Linked DNA regions of Homo sapiens: all the other regions are linked to region 1. Evidence: promoter capture Hi-C in 16 types of primary human blood cells and fetal thymus (Javierre and others, 2016). All regions are on one chromosome and are shown on one strand. Each heading gives the region's core, a stretch centred on a gene start or on the middle of the fragment in contact. The rest is flanking DNA. Distances are from core to core; before and after follow the strand shown. Region 1 holds the start of ZNF223 (zinc finger protein 223). Region 2 overlaps ZNF112 (zinc finger protein 112). Region 3 has its middle 15 kb from the start of ZNF235.

Region 1 (4,492 bases), core at 780-3,279:
ATGGTTTATCTTCAAAAGAGAATTTTAGATGAATTGTTTCCTGATTTAGCTTTATACTATTATTAATGTCTTTCAACTAACATATGCCAGTTTTCAAATTGTTTCCTATAATGAAGATATTTTAACCAAGAAATGGAAAGGAAGAAACTCTTAATAATAAATCATGCTCCGTCACCTATAGAATCTTCTCCAGTTTTATGGCATTGAATCAGACATTGGGTGTCAGATTGATACCAATGCCAAGCTCTTCAACAGTTATACTTGCTTTAAGATACTTAGCAATTCACTAACTTCTCTGAAATTTAGCGTTTCTACATCTAAAGTAGAAATATTACTACCATGAGAATGTTAAATGTAGCTTTTCCATGAGGACACAGCTTCTCCATTGGTGGCTGGAATTTTGTTTTTCCTGTCAAACCAGTGGTACCACAGCATCTGGACTAGGGCTGTAACTGAGAACCACCATTTTTCTAAGAGACAGCTTATTTATTTCTCTCTCTTTTCTCATTCCCTTAGTTCCCCACTTCCTATGTAGCCCTTTAAAAATGCAAATATAGACTTTTACCTCCCCTTCACCAGACACTTCCTACAGGGAAAGTTCATCTAACTGTGTGCTCCAAGCCAGAACTCTCCTCCAGAATTAACAGTCAATTTACAAACTAAAGCATGCTGGCCTCTGAACTCTCACTCACCAGGAGGTTGCCTGAAGAGACAACAGTTGAAAGCGTGCCTGCTACTCTCTCCCTTCTGGTTACAACTTATTTCTGCCCATGAAAAAGCCAGCTCAACTGCCTAATAGATAAGGCACCAAGCCAGCACACAGACCCCTTCCCTCTTCCTCCCCTACCTTTTAAAAGTGCCTGCTTTCTGCTCTAAAAGCCAAGCCGTGCACTTAAAGACAACACCTGTGCTACTTCCCCTACGCTAGCTCTAGAATAAATCACTTTCTTTATACCAGATCTCCCTCTTGTTAACTGGACGTTGCAAACGGGAAGCCACTGATCTACTTTTCAGTTACAGGGGCTGATGCTTTCCTGGCTTCTCATTGCCCCTCCCAACCCATTCTACCTGGCTCATTCTTTAAACCAGTGGTCCCCAACCGTTTTAGCACCATGGACCGGTTTTGTGGAAGACAATTTTTCCACGGACTGGGGAATGGTTTCGGGATGAAACTGTTCCACCTCAGCCATTAGATTCTCATAAGGAGCGCCTGACCTAGATCCTTCGCACGCACAGTTCACAATAGGATCCGCGCTCCTATGAGAATGTAATGCTGGGCTGATCTCACAGGAGGTGGAGCTCAGGCCATAATGCTCCCTCACCTGCCGCTCACTTCCTGCTGTGCCGCCCGGTTCCTAACAGTCAGTGGACCGGTACAGGTCTGTGGCCCTGGAGTTGGATATCCTTGCTTTAAACCCTGAGCCTCCTTTCAGCCATCTGACGGCTCAACAGTCACTCTATCTAGCTCCTTGAATATTGTATCTCCTCGCTTGTTCCCTGTCCAAGAACACTCCTGTCAATCATGGGAGACATTTAGACTTCATAAATTCTTTCTATTCAATATTTTCGCTCGAGGACTCTGGGAAGGACAACTGTCAGGGTAACAGTCTGCATTCCCCACCAGGAACCTGGGGCTATGAAATTCGTTCCCCGTGGGTGTTGCGGGAAGTGTAATCGAGGAGCACCATGTAGTCGCAACACTTGAGCCTAAAGGGTGAGGTGATGGACATTTTCCTTTTGCATCTGAGGCTCTGCAGTCCAGACACCTTGCGGGATTCCTGATACTTCAGCTCAGGTAGGCGTTTCCGGAGAATTCTGGGAAGAGTAGTCCATTTTACGGGAAGTGTAGTCCACTGGCTCGTGGAACACTGGGTATTTTGGCTCTGGCAGGTGAACCGTTGAATTCTGGGAACGATAGTCCAGACACTCTGCGGAGTCCCGGGCCCTTTGGCTCAGGGGGGCGGGTCCGGGGAATTCTGGGGAGTGGAGTCCAGACACTCTGGCGCAGAGAGGACACTTCCGGTCTCCTAGTCTGAGGTTCCTGCTTTAATGACCGGGGTAGTTTGAGCCATTTCTGCGTCTTGCAGGACATTTTGAACGAACCCCCTTTGCTTGAGGCTCGCAACCACCCGATGATCGATGATCGTCTCAGGGGAAAAGAAGCCTTGGCGAAGAGCAGAGGTTTAGAGGTGCGAGGGCGGGGAGGGTGTTTATTGTTCCCGTCAGCGGAGCCTTCTGGCGTCGGGGGGCTTTGCTCGCCTCCCGGGGGGTGGGATTGGGGTGGCCTTGTGTGCCCTGCTCTGAGGGTTTCCAGGACTTTGACCTCGCTCAGTCCGCCTCCCTACGTATGCAGTGTGTACACTCTTTCTCGCAGTGTGATGTGGAATGTTAATGTCTCTGTACTTCCCATTGCTGTTCTTTAAAATGGTGCTTATAGGGTCATCCTAATAGAATTGTTTTGCGAATTGAAAGAGATAATACAAATGAAAGCCTTAAAGTTGTCCCTGTCACTTGGTGAGTGGTCTCTTGTTGCCTGATATTTTAAAACGTTTGATATCATTTCAAAGCTATAGAAAAATTGCAAAAACAGTATAAGAAATTCTCATATACCCTTTACCCAAATTTGCCAAGTGTTTACATTTTTCCTGTTTGCTTTGTTGATGACCATCAACCAAATACCACCAGGAACATACCTGTAACCAGAGACAGCTGATTGGTAGCTTTCTGCAGCAAGGAAGCCCACATACCACGGTAATTGTGGGGTGTCTTGGTAAGAGGCATTTAGGAAGGGCTGGTTATAGGGTTTCACATAACATGGTAGATAATATTGGATATTATGTTAAATAATACTGTTACCGATTACATGTCAGATAGATGTGTTAAAAGAATACTAGTATTTGTAGTGTACTTACTAGATAGTGTTGGATAGCATATTACCTAGCATCATGTTATCTAATCTGCAGTTCCATATACGAATTTGTTAAATTTTTCATTTAAAGTCCTTATGACTGTCCTCTGCCCCACCCTTCACCTATTCAAAGTCCAGTTTATGCGTTGTCTTTAGCTGTCACATTTCCATAGTTGTTCATTTGGAGTTTGATATTGAAGGGGGCCTGCCTCTCCACACCTGTGGGTGTTTCTCACAAGGTGGAAATGAGAAACTGAGAAAAGAAATAAGACACAGACACAAAGTATAGAGGAAGAAAAGTGGGCCCAGGGGACCGGCGCTCAGCAAATGAGGACCTGTACCGGCACTGGTCTCTGAGTTCCCTCAGTATTTATTGATCACTATCTCTACTATCTTGGTGAGGGGGATGTGGAAGGACTATAGGGTAATGGTGGGGAGAGGGTCAGCCGGAAAACATGTGAGCAAAGGACTCTGTCATAAATAAGTTTAAGGAAAGGAGTTGTGCCTGGATGTGCACATAGGCCAGATTTATGTGTGACTTTACACAAACATCTCAGTGCAGTAAAGACCAGTATTGCCGCCAGTATGTCTCACCTCCAGCCATAAGGCGGTTTTCTCCTATCTCAGTAAATAGAATGTACGATTGGGTTTTATACCGAGACATTCCATTCCCAGGGATGAGCAGGAGACAGATGCCTTCCTCTTACCTCAACTGCAAAGAGGCCTTCCTCTTTCACTAATCCTCCTCAGCACAGACCCCTTATGGGTGTCGGGCTGGGGGACGGTCAGGTCTTTCCCTTCCCACGAGGCCATCTCTCAGGCTGTCTCAGTGGGTGGAAACCTTGGACAATGCCCAGGCTTTCTTGGGCAGAGGTCCCTGTGGCCTTCCGCAGTGTATGGTGTCCCTGGTTAATCGAGACTGGAGAATGGCAATGACTTTTACCAAGCATACTGCCTGCAAACACATTTTTACCAAAGCACATCCTGCACAGCCCTAAATCCATTAAACCTTGAGTCAATACAACACATGTTTCTGCGAGCACAGGGTTGGGGCTAGGGTTACAGATTAACAGCATCTCAAGGCAGAAGAATTTTTCTTAGTACAGATCAAAATGGAGTTTCTCATGTCTTCCTTTTTCTACGTAGACACAGTAACAGCCTGATCTCTTTTTCTTTCCCCTACAGATATATTTCACATTTAGGTTTAGATTATACATTGTTGGTGGGGATTCCACAGGAGTGTTAAGATGCCCTTTTCTTTTTTTTTTTTTTTGTTTGAGACAGTTTTGCTCTTGTCACCCAGGCTGGGGTACAATGGTGCAATAGGATGCCCTTTTCATTGTAACATAACAAGGTCCAAGTGATGTTCGTTTGTCCCTTCATTGGTGATCTCAGCTTTGTCACTGGCCAAGAAGATGTCTTTCAGATTTTTCCACTCTTATGTTACTTTTTTTTAAATTATGAAGTTTCTTATGGGAAAATACATTATTAGTGGGCATTTTCTTGTAAAAAAGAGCTTCCATTTCTCCTCTATTGGTTCATTGATTTGTTCAACTATAAATATTCTATCAATGTGGACTCAGA
Region 2 (4,492 bases), core at 1,228-3,727, 290 kb after region 1:
CAACTATACTAGACTCTAGATCCTGTTCTGGAGGGAGAAAAATATGCTTTAAAGAATAAAATTAGGCTGGTCGTGGTGACTCATGCCTGTAATCCCAGCACTTTGGGAGGCTGAGGCAGGTGGATCACCTGAGGCCAGGAGTTTGAGACCAGTGTGGCCAACATGGTGAAACCTCATCTCTAATAAAAATATAAAAATTAGCTGGGCATGGTGGTAGTTGCCTGTAATCTCAGCTACAGGTGGCTGAGGCACGAGAATCACTTGAATCTGGGAGGCAGAGGATTCAGTGAGCTGAGGTTGCACCACTGCACTCCAGCCTGGGCAACAGAGTGAGACTCTGTCTCAAAAGAAAAAATATATATATAAAATTGGCTTTATGGATAAAATCACAGCATAAATGATAGATAAGATAAAAACATTATATCTGTCCTGAGAACAGGTAAGAGAATATTCCTCTTTTTATAAAACAGACTGTGCAGTAAAGGAAAGAGTTAGTTTTGTTTAAAGAGAGATCTGGATTTTGCCTTTGGCTTCTGGAGAAGGTAATCGCTAAGTCCCTGGAATATACTGCCCGATTAGAGTGTCTTTCGTTTACCCAGAAGCCTTGGGCCACACACCAGATAGTTAAACAATGTGATTTATAGTAGGGGCTTTGAGCCATGTGGTATTAGCTTAACCTCTGGAGAAACTGGAATCTAAGAGCAGCCACCCAGGTGGTCAATCATATCTAGGTAACTAAGCTCCAGTAAAAACTCTGGACACCAAGGCTCAAATGAGCCTCTCTGGCTGGCAATGCTCCTTACGTATTGTCATACTTCACTGCTGGGAAGTCAGTGCTGTCCACAACTCCACGGAAGATGACAAGTGGAAGCTGACATCTGGAACGCTCCTGGACTCTGCCTCCTGGGCCTCTTCCCTAGGCTGACTTTAATCTGATTCCTTTCCCTGTAATGAATCATTAACTGTGAAGACAACTGCTTTCAGTGAGTTCTGTGAGTCCTTCTAGTGAATTATTGAGCCTGAGTGTGGGGCTCAGTACTCTTGGGTCTTGGGGACTCCTAATCTTGCAATTGGTATCAGAGGTGAGAGTGAACTTGGGGACTCCTGAACTCTGTATATACACTGAAGTATTTAGAGAAAAACGGCCATGGTATATTAACTTACCCTCAAGTCGTTCAGAAAAAGATATTATGACTATATATATTTTTTCATATACATACATAAGTATGTATGGAGAGGGAAAGAACATGAACATAAATGATAGAGCAAATAGGGTAAAATGTTATTAGAGGTGAATCCAGGTAGAATCTTGGCGAATCTATATGGGTGTTCTTGTCCTTTTGTAAGTTTTCTGTGAGTTTAAAGTTATTTACAAATATAATGTTTTTTTAAAAAAACCCCTCTAAAAAGTCAAGTTCATCAACAGTTACTGGTGCCCTGAAAAATAAACTTACTAACCTGGAACAACTTACTAAACTGTTTGATGGCAAATCAATGAAGCAGGACCATATTTACTATTCCAAGGATAGACTGGACAAAACCATCAGAAACATCTTGTCTGTGTTGCACGGGGATTATTAGGACTCTCGGGCACCTAATCTCAGAGAATAATTTCAGGGGCTTCAGAGTTTCTAACAATTGAGCACACAAAGACACCCCAGGAGGCTGCCATTGAGTAACTAAGGGCACCTATCCTCACCTACTAAGAGCAGGTTCCTGAAGTTCTCCAGCATCACATCTCGGTACAGCTTCCTCTGGACAGAGTCCAGCAGCCCCAGCTCCTCCTCAGTGAAGACCACAGCAACATCCTTGAATGTCACCATCTCCTACAATGCCAAACACATGCACACTAAGTTTACAGAAGAAGGGCAGTGCTGAGAAGGTGTAAAGGACTGGAAGCTGTTCTGGAGTCTGGGCAACTTGAGTCACATTTACATAGTTCTCTTCTGTTTACCTTCTGTAATGCTAATACCATTCACCAAAAGGGCTGCAAGAAAAGAAATCCTTGCACTTTGAAATTACTTCCTTTTGTTAGCACTTATAAGTAAGCCTCTGGAACTCTGTTGCACCCTAGGTTACCAATATTTTAAATTGTAATAATAATGTCATTTGCTCCACAAAAGCTTTAGTTCTAACAGTGACTGATGCTACCTGTTTCTCCTCATTTACACACACACACATCACTTATTTAATTTGTCAAATTTACAGGGTATCAGTCATCCTTACTGCTCAAATATGTAGCTCATCCTCTGTGCTCATCTGGAGACTGCTGCAGTGATGGGCACAGCTCTGGAGCCTGACTGCCTGTGTCTGGATCTGGGCGCTCTGCCCAATGCTAGCTCTATGATCTTGGACAAGTTTCCTATCTTCTCATTTGTATGGTGAAACTTATACCATACAGTCCTAGTAATAAAATGAGTGACCACATGTAAAGCATGGAAAACAGCACCTGGCACACAGTAAGTACCCAACAAATGTTAGCTACATTATTAATATTTTCATTATATCTTCTATCCCATTTCTGGGCTGCAAAGTAATTCAGAGAACTAATGGTCTAGAATATAATAATTTGATCCAACTAATGCACACTTAGTTTGAGGTTACCTATACGAACAATGTTGCAAAAACAATCTTTTGCATTGACGTTAACCTCTGGAATTCTGTTGATTATCTCCTCAAAATAAATACCAAAAAGTAACAATGGCAATGCTGAAGAATAATGACCTTTAAAGTTCTGAAATCATAATGGCAGGTGTTTTCCCAAAACAGACTTTCGCCTTCCATCTTAGCCTTCTTCCAAGAAAGTATAAATCATAGTCAACACTGGATATGAAAGCTTTTTAAAAAAATCTTTCATAATCTCACAAGTAAATTTGGGAAGTAAAAATCATTTATTAAAAACATTCTCACAAACTTATTGGTAATAAAGTTCATTCTCTTTACACACATTTGCTGTTCATCTCGATTTCTTGTTTTGTAATAATAATTCATTTGGAGGACACCGAGGTCTTTTCTTCCATGGACATTGTAAATATTTTTCATTCCACTTTGCTGTCTTGTAACTTTTTGCTGTAGGGTAATTTTAAATTTTTAAATGAACAACTGTTCAGTCCCATATTTCTTCTGGCTGCAGTTCTGAGCATAACAGCTTCAGCTCTGAATGCAGAACTCTGCTTTGGTTTGCTTTGCTTTTTTGTAAGTCTTTCCACGCAAGTGATATGCCTGAAACTCTTGGCCCAGAAAGCAAAGGCTTTAGAGTTGGCCCAATGCTTATCTTCCTGTATGAACATGAACCTCTTAACAGTGCAAACGACTCTACAGTTCCCCTCCAACAGTCATCTGGGGCCATGAATAGTGTGACAGATGCAAAGTGCCTATATATCCTATGGTATGACTAAAAACTTTAAACTAAGTACCTGTATTACTCTAATAAAATTAATACATGAATAATGAAACACACACAGACATACAAACATATATAGATAAACACATAGCTATAGGTACTGAGAAGAATCTAGCTCTTCTTATATAAGAATCTAGCTCTTCTTGTACAAAAACATCTATTTTTCCCCCAACCTTAGCTTCAATATAATCTTGTTAGACAAAATCATATTTTATGTATTCCACCTGAGACATCACTTAGGAGAAAATATTTTTAGTTTTGAGTCTCTAGAACATTATGGACAAATAATATCAAAATTCTCTCACACTGGTTTTTGAGTCAAGATTATTTGTAGGAAAACTGATACTGCAATGTAAAACTGCAAGAATCCTCAGGAACGTAAAAGCTTGTGAGTTGGAAATAATTTAAAGAAAAGGGCCGGGCACGGTGGCTCACGCCTGTAATCCCAGCACTTTGGGAGGCTGAGGCACGTAGATCACGAGGTCAGGAGTTCAAGACCAGCCTGGCCAAGATGGTGAAACCCCATCTCTACTAAAAATACAAAAAAATAGCTCGGTGTGGTGGCAGGCACCTGTAATCCCAGCTACTCGGGAGGCTGAGGCAGAGAATTGCTGGAATCCAGGAGGTGGAGGGTGCAGTGAGCCGAGATCATGCCACTGCATTCCAGCCTGGGCAACAGAGCGAGACTCCATCTCAAAAAAAAAAAAGAAAAAGAAAAAGAAAAGGGGGAGAGGGATAACAACAGTTTACGTCAATAATATTAGATGATAAAAATTAACTGCTAAAAATTAAGCGGATAAAAATTCAAAATTGTTATGTATTAATGCAAGAACAGTTATATTTAAAAAAATGACCATGGACAAAAACAGATTTGTAAGCAGGGTAATAAGGTGTAGGATTTTAAAATTTCTATTCTTCTTTGTACTATTATTTATGAAATAAATAATAAAACACATTTACAACTAAAAGGAAATTTTAGAAAAGGACAAAAACAAAAAGCAAGAGCCTGATACATAAATGATACTAAATGCCTGTTGTCATTCTTTACCCTTGGCAAAGAAGGGGGAAAAAGATATGTCCACTCACTGC
Region 3 (4,492 bases), core at 1,477-3,976, 270 kb after region 1:
CTCCAGCTTTCTTACTTTTGCTCAGAGTTGCCTTTGGCTATATGGCATCTTCTGTGGTTCCATATAAATGTTAGAATTGTTTTTGTCTATTTCAGTGAAGAATGTCATTAGTATTTTCTTTTTTTAAATTAAATTAAATTAAATTAAATTAAATTTATCACTATTATTTTTCTTGAGAAGGAGTCTTGCTCTGTCGCCCAGGCTACAGTGCAGTGGCGCAATCTTGGCTCACTGCAAGCTCTGCCTCCCAGGTTCACGCTATTCTCCTGCCTCAGCCTCCCAAGTAGCTGGGACTACAGGTGCCCGCCACCATGCCCGGCTAATTTTTTGCATTTTTTAGTAGAGACAGGGTTTCACCATGTTAGCCAGGATGGTCTCAATCTCCTGACCTCGTGATTGGTCTGCCTTGGCCTCCCAAAGTGCTGGGATTACAGGCATGAGCCACTGTGCCTGGCCTGTCATTAGTATTTTCATAGGAATTTCATTGAATCTGTAAATTGCATTGAGTAATATTGTCATTTTGACAATATTAATTATTCCAATCCATGAGCATGGGCTATCTATTTTTTGTGTCCTTTTCAATTTCTTTCATCAGTGTTTTAGAGTTTTCCTTGGATAGTTCTTTCACTACTTTGGTTAAACTCACTCTTAGGTATTGTATATTCTTTGTAGCTATTGTAAATGGGATTGCTTTCTTGATTTCAGATTGTTCACTGTTGGCATATATAAATAATACTGATTTTTTATGTTTATTTTGTATCCTGCAACATTACTCAATTTTCTTATCAGTTCTAATGGTTTTTGATAGTCTTTAGTATTTTCCATTTTTAATAACATGTCATCTGTCAACAAGACTAATTTGACTTCTTCCTTTCCAATTTGGATGCCCTTTAATTTCTCTGGGAACTGGAGTGCTAAAGTTTTCTCAGTGTTCCTCCCACCTAATTGTTCTATGCAGGATTTCCAGTACTATCTATATTGAATAAAGGTGGTGAGATTAGGCATCCTTGTCTTTTTCAAGATCTTAGAGGAAAGGCCTTCAATTCTTCCCTGTCAGCACAATGTTAGCTGTGGGCTTGTCATATATAACTTTTATTATTCTGAGGTATGTTCCTTCTACACCCAGTTTGATGAGGATTTTTATCATAAAGGGATGTTAAATTATATTGAATGTTTATTTTTAGCATCTATCAAAATAATCAGATGGTTTTTCTTCTTGGTTCTGTTAGTGTGACGTATCACACTTATCAATTTGCATATACTGGATCATCCTTGCATCCTTGGGATGAATCCCATTTGATCATGGTGAATGATCTTTTTAATATGTTGGTGAATGATCTTTTTAATATGTTGCTGAATTCAGTTTGCTAGTATTTTGTTGAAAATTTTTGCATCTATGTTCACCAGTGATAATGTCCTGCAGTTTTTTTTTCCATTGTGTCCTTTTCTGGTTTTGGTATCAGGATACTGTTGGCCCCATAGAATAAATTTGGAATTATTCCCTTCTCTTCAATTTTTGTGAAGAGTTTGAGTAGAATTGGTATTAGTTCTCTAAATGTTTGGTAGAATTTAGCAGTGAAACCATTAGGTCATGAGTTTTTCCTTGATAGGCGACTTTTTATTATGGCTTCAATTTCATTATTTGTTACTGGTTTATCGAGGTTTTCTATTTCTTCATAGTTCAACTGTGGTCGATTGCATGTGTCCAGGAATTTATTCATTACTTCTAGGTTTTCCAAAGTGTATCATTGTTCATCACAGTCTCTAATGATTCTTATTTCTAATGATTCTTATTTTTGTGGTCTCAGTTGTTAAGTCTCCTTTTTCATTTCTGATGTTATTTACTTGGATCTTCTTTCTTTCTTGGTTAGTTTAGCCAAAGGTTTGATGATTTCTGTTTATCTTTTTAAAATCCCAACTTTTCTTTCATTTATCTTCTGTATTCTTCTTTCATTATCAATTTTATTTATTTCTGCTCTGATCTTTATTTATTTTCTTCTACTAATTTTGGATTTGGTTTGTTCTTACTTTTTTAGTTCCTTGAGGTGCATCATTAGGTTGTTATTTGAAATCTTTTTACCTTTTTGATATATGTTTGTTGCTATAAACCTCTAAGTTTTGCTTTGGCTGTATCCCATAGATTTTGCCATGTTGTATTTCTATTTTCTTTGTTTCAAAAAATGTTTAAATTTCCTTCTTAATTTCTTCATTGCCTCACTGGTCATTCAGGAGCATGCTGTTTAATTTCCATGTTGTTTGTGAAGCTTCCAATGTCCTTTTTGTTATTGATTTCTAGTTTAATTATACTGTGGTCAGAAAAGATACTGAATATAATCTCTCTTTTTTTTTTAATTTGTTGAGATTTGTTTTGTGGCCTAAGATATAGTCTATTCTGGACAATGTTCCATGTACTGATGAAAAGAACATCTATTCTGCAGCAATTGGGTGAAATGATCTGTAAATGTCAGTTATGTCTATTAGGTCTAGTGTGTGACCTAACTTCAATGTTTCTTTGTTGATTTTCTGTCTGGATGATCTGTCCATTGCTGAGAGTGGGATGTCAAAGTCTCCTACTATTATTATTTTGCCATATATCTCTTATTTTCGATCTATTAATGTTTGCTTTATAAACTTCGGAGTTCTGGTGTTGAATGCATAGATATTTATAATGGTTATATCATCTTGCTGAATTGACCCATTAATCATTTTATAGTGACCTTATTTGTCTTTTTTACAGTCTTTGATTTGTAGTCTATATTGTATCTTATACAAGTATAGCTACTCCTGCTCTTTTTTCGTTGCCTGTTGCAAGCTATGTCTTTTTCCACCCCTTCACTTTTAGACTATGTGTGTCTTTACAGGTGAAGTGGGTTTCTTGCAGGCAGCATATAGTTGGGTCTTGTTTCTCTATCCATTCAGCCACTTTATGTCTTTTAATCAGAGGATGAGTCAATTTACATTCAGTGTTATTATTGATTAGTAAGGACTTACTACTGCCATTTGTTGCTTGTTTTCTGGTTGTTTTGTAACTCCTCCCTTTCTTTCTTCCTTTCTTACTGTCTTCTTTTTTTGCTTAAATATTTAAGAGTCTTCATTTTTCTGTCTTCCTTTGTGGTTAACAGTATGTTTTAATTTGTTGCTTTTTACTTTTAGTGAATCTATTATAGGTTTTTGTATTGTGTTTACCATAAAGCTTACAAAATACATTTTATAGATATAACAGGTTATTTTAAAGAGATGACAACTTATCTTAGATTACAAGTAATAGAAACAAAGAAAAATGAAAAGAAGAAACACTTCTACACTTAACTCCCATCCGTCCCACCTTTTGATTTTTGGTTGTCTCAATGTACATATTTTTATATTACCTATTTCTTAACAAATTGCTCTTGCTATTATTCTTTTTGATAGATTTCTTTTGGGCTACATACTAGTTATGAGTGGATTGCACATCACAATTACAATACTATTCTTGGTTTGTCTGTGTACTTAACTTTACCACTGGGTTTTACAGTTTCAGAAGCTTTCATTTTGCACATTAGTAGCTTTTTCTTTCACATTGGAAACTCCCTTGAACCTTTCTTAGAAGTCTGTTGTGGTAAATTCTCTCATCTTTTGTTTATCTTGGAAAGACTTTATCTCTCCTTCATATTTGAAGGATAACTTTGCTAGATACAGTATTCTTGGATGATAGTTTTTTTTTTTTTTTAATTTCAGCACTTTGAAAATGTCTCTGCACTTCCTCCTGGCCTATATGGCTTCTGTTAAGAAGTCTTTTGCCAGATGAATTGGAGCTCCTTTATATGTCATTTGCTTGTTTTTTTTTTTTTTTTTTTTTTTTTTTGCTGCTTTTATAATTCTTTCTCCTTGACCTATGAGAGTTTATTATATGCTTTGGGGTAGTCTTAGTTGGGTCAAATCTGTTTGCTGTTCTATGATTTCCCTGTACCTGGATATTCATCTCTTTCTTAAATTTTGGAAAGTTTTCTGTTATTTTGTTGAATATACTTTCTACTCCTTGCTCTTGCTCAACTCCCTCCTGAACAGCAGTAATTCTTAGTTTTGGTCATTTGAGATATTTTCTATCTCTTTCAGTCAATATTTGCTCTTTTTCTTTCTCTGTTCTCTTCTGACTGTGTATTCACAAATAGCCTGTCTTGGAGCTCACTGATTCTTTCTTCTGCTTGATACATTCTGCTGTTGAGAGCCTCTAATGGATATTTCAGTGCAGCAAACATATTTCTCAGTTCCAAGATTTCTGTTTGATTTTAAAAAATTATTTTATTCTCTGTTCAGGTTCTCTGATACATTTCTGAATTGCTTTTCTGTGTTATCTTGGAGATCACTGAGTTTCCTTAAAACAGCTCTTATGAAGTCTTGGTCAGAGAGTTCACATATCGTCTTCCTGTTAGGATCAGTCACTGGTTCCTTGCTTTGTCCATTTGTGGGATGCCATGGCTCCCCGTTTGCTGTTGTTGCTTATGGATGTGTG

What was found. The method cuts DNA at HindIII sites, captures the fragments that hold promoters and counts their contacts. A CHiCAGO score of 5 or more calls a contact.
Region 2: a fragment that was not itself captured here is called in contact with the fragment with the promoter of ZNF223 in region 1 in 1 of 17 cell types (fetal thymus); the score reaches 5.4 in fetal thymus.
Region 3: a fragment that was not itself captured here is called in contact with the fragment with the promoter of ZNF223 in region 1 in 2 of 17 cell types (naive CD8 T cells and total CD8 T cells); the score reaches 5.6 in naive CD8 T cells.

Annotation. Positions count from the first base shown.
Region 1 is chr19:44,050,007-44,054,498 of GRCh38, forward strand. It overlaps ZNF223 (zinc finger protein 223), which reads left to right and starts at 2,030. Exons shown (of 5, transcript NM_013361.6): 1 at 2,030-2,189. RefSeq lists enhancers at 1,696-2,197, 2,017-2,256 and a silencer at 1,917-1,976. The HindIII fragment of the contact is 18,414 bases long and covers 1-4,492 here.
Region 2 is chr19:44,338,717-44,343,208 of GRCh38, forward strand. ZNF112 (zinc finger protein 112) reads right to left here. Exons shown (of 4, transcript NM_013380.4): 2 at 1,700-1,826. The coding sequence starts at 1,823. Among named protein-coding and RNA genes, the nearest start is that of ZNF112, 16 kb to the right of the region's middle. The HindIII fragment of the contact is 713 bases long and covers 2,122-2,834 here.
Region 3 is chr19:44,318,085-44,322,576 of GRCh38, forward strand. No RefSeq gene overlaps it. Among named protein-coding and RNA genes, the nearest start is that of ZNF235, 15 kb to the left of the region's middle. The HindIII fragment of the contact is 929 bases long and covers 2,263-3,191 here.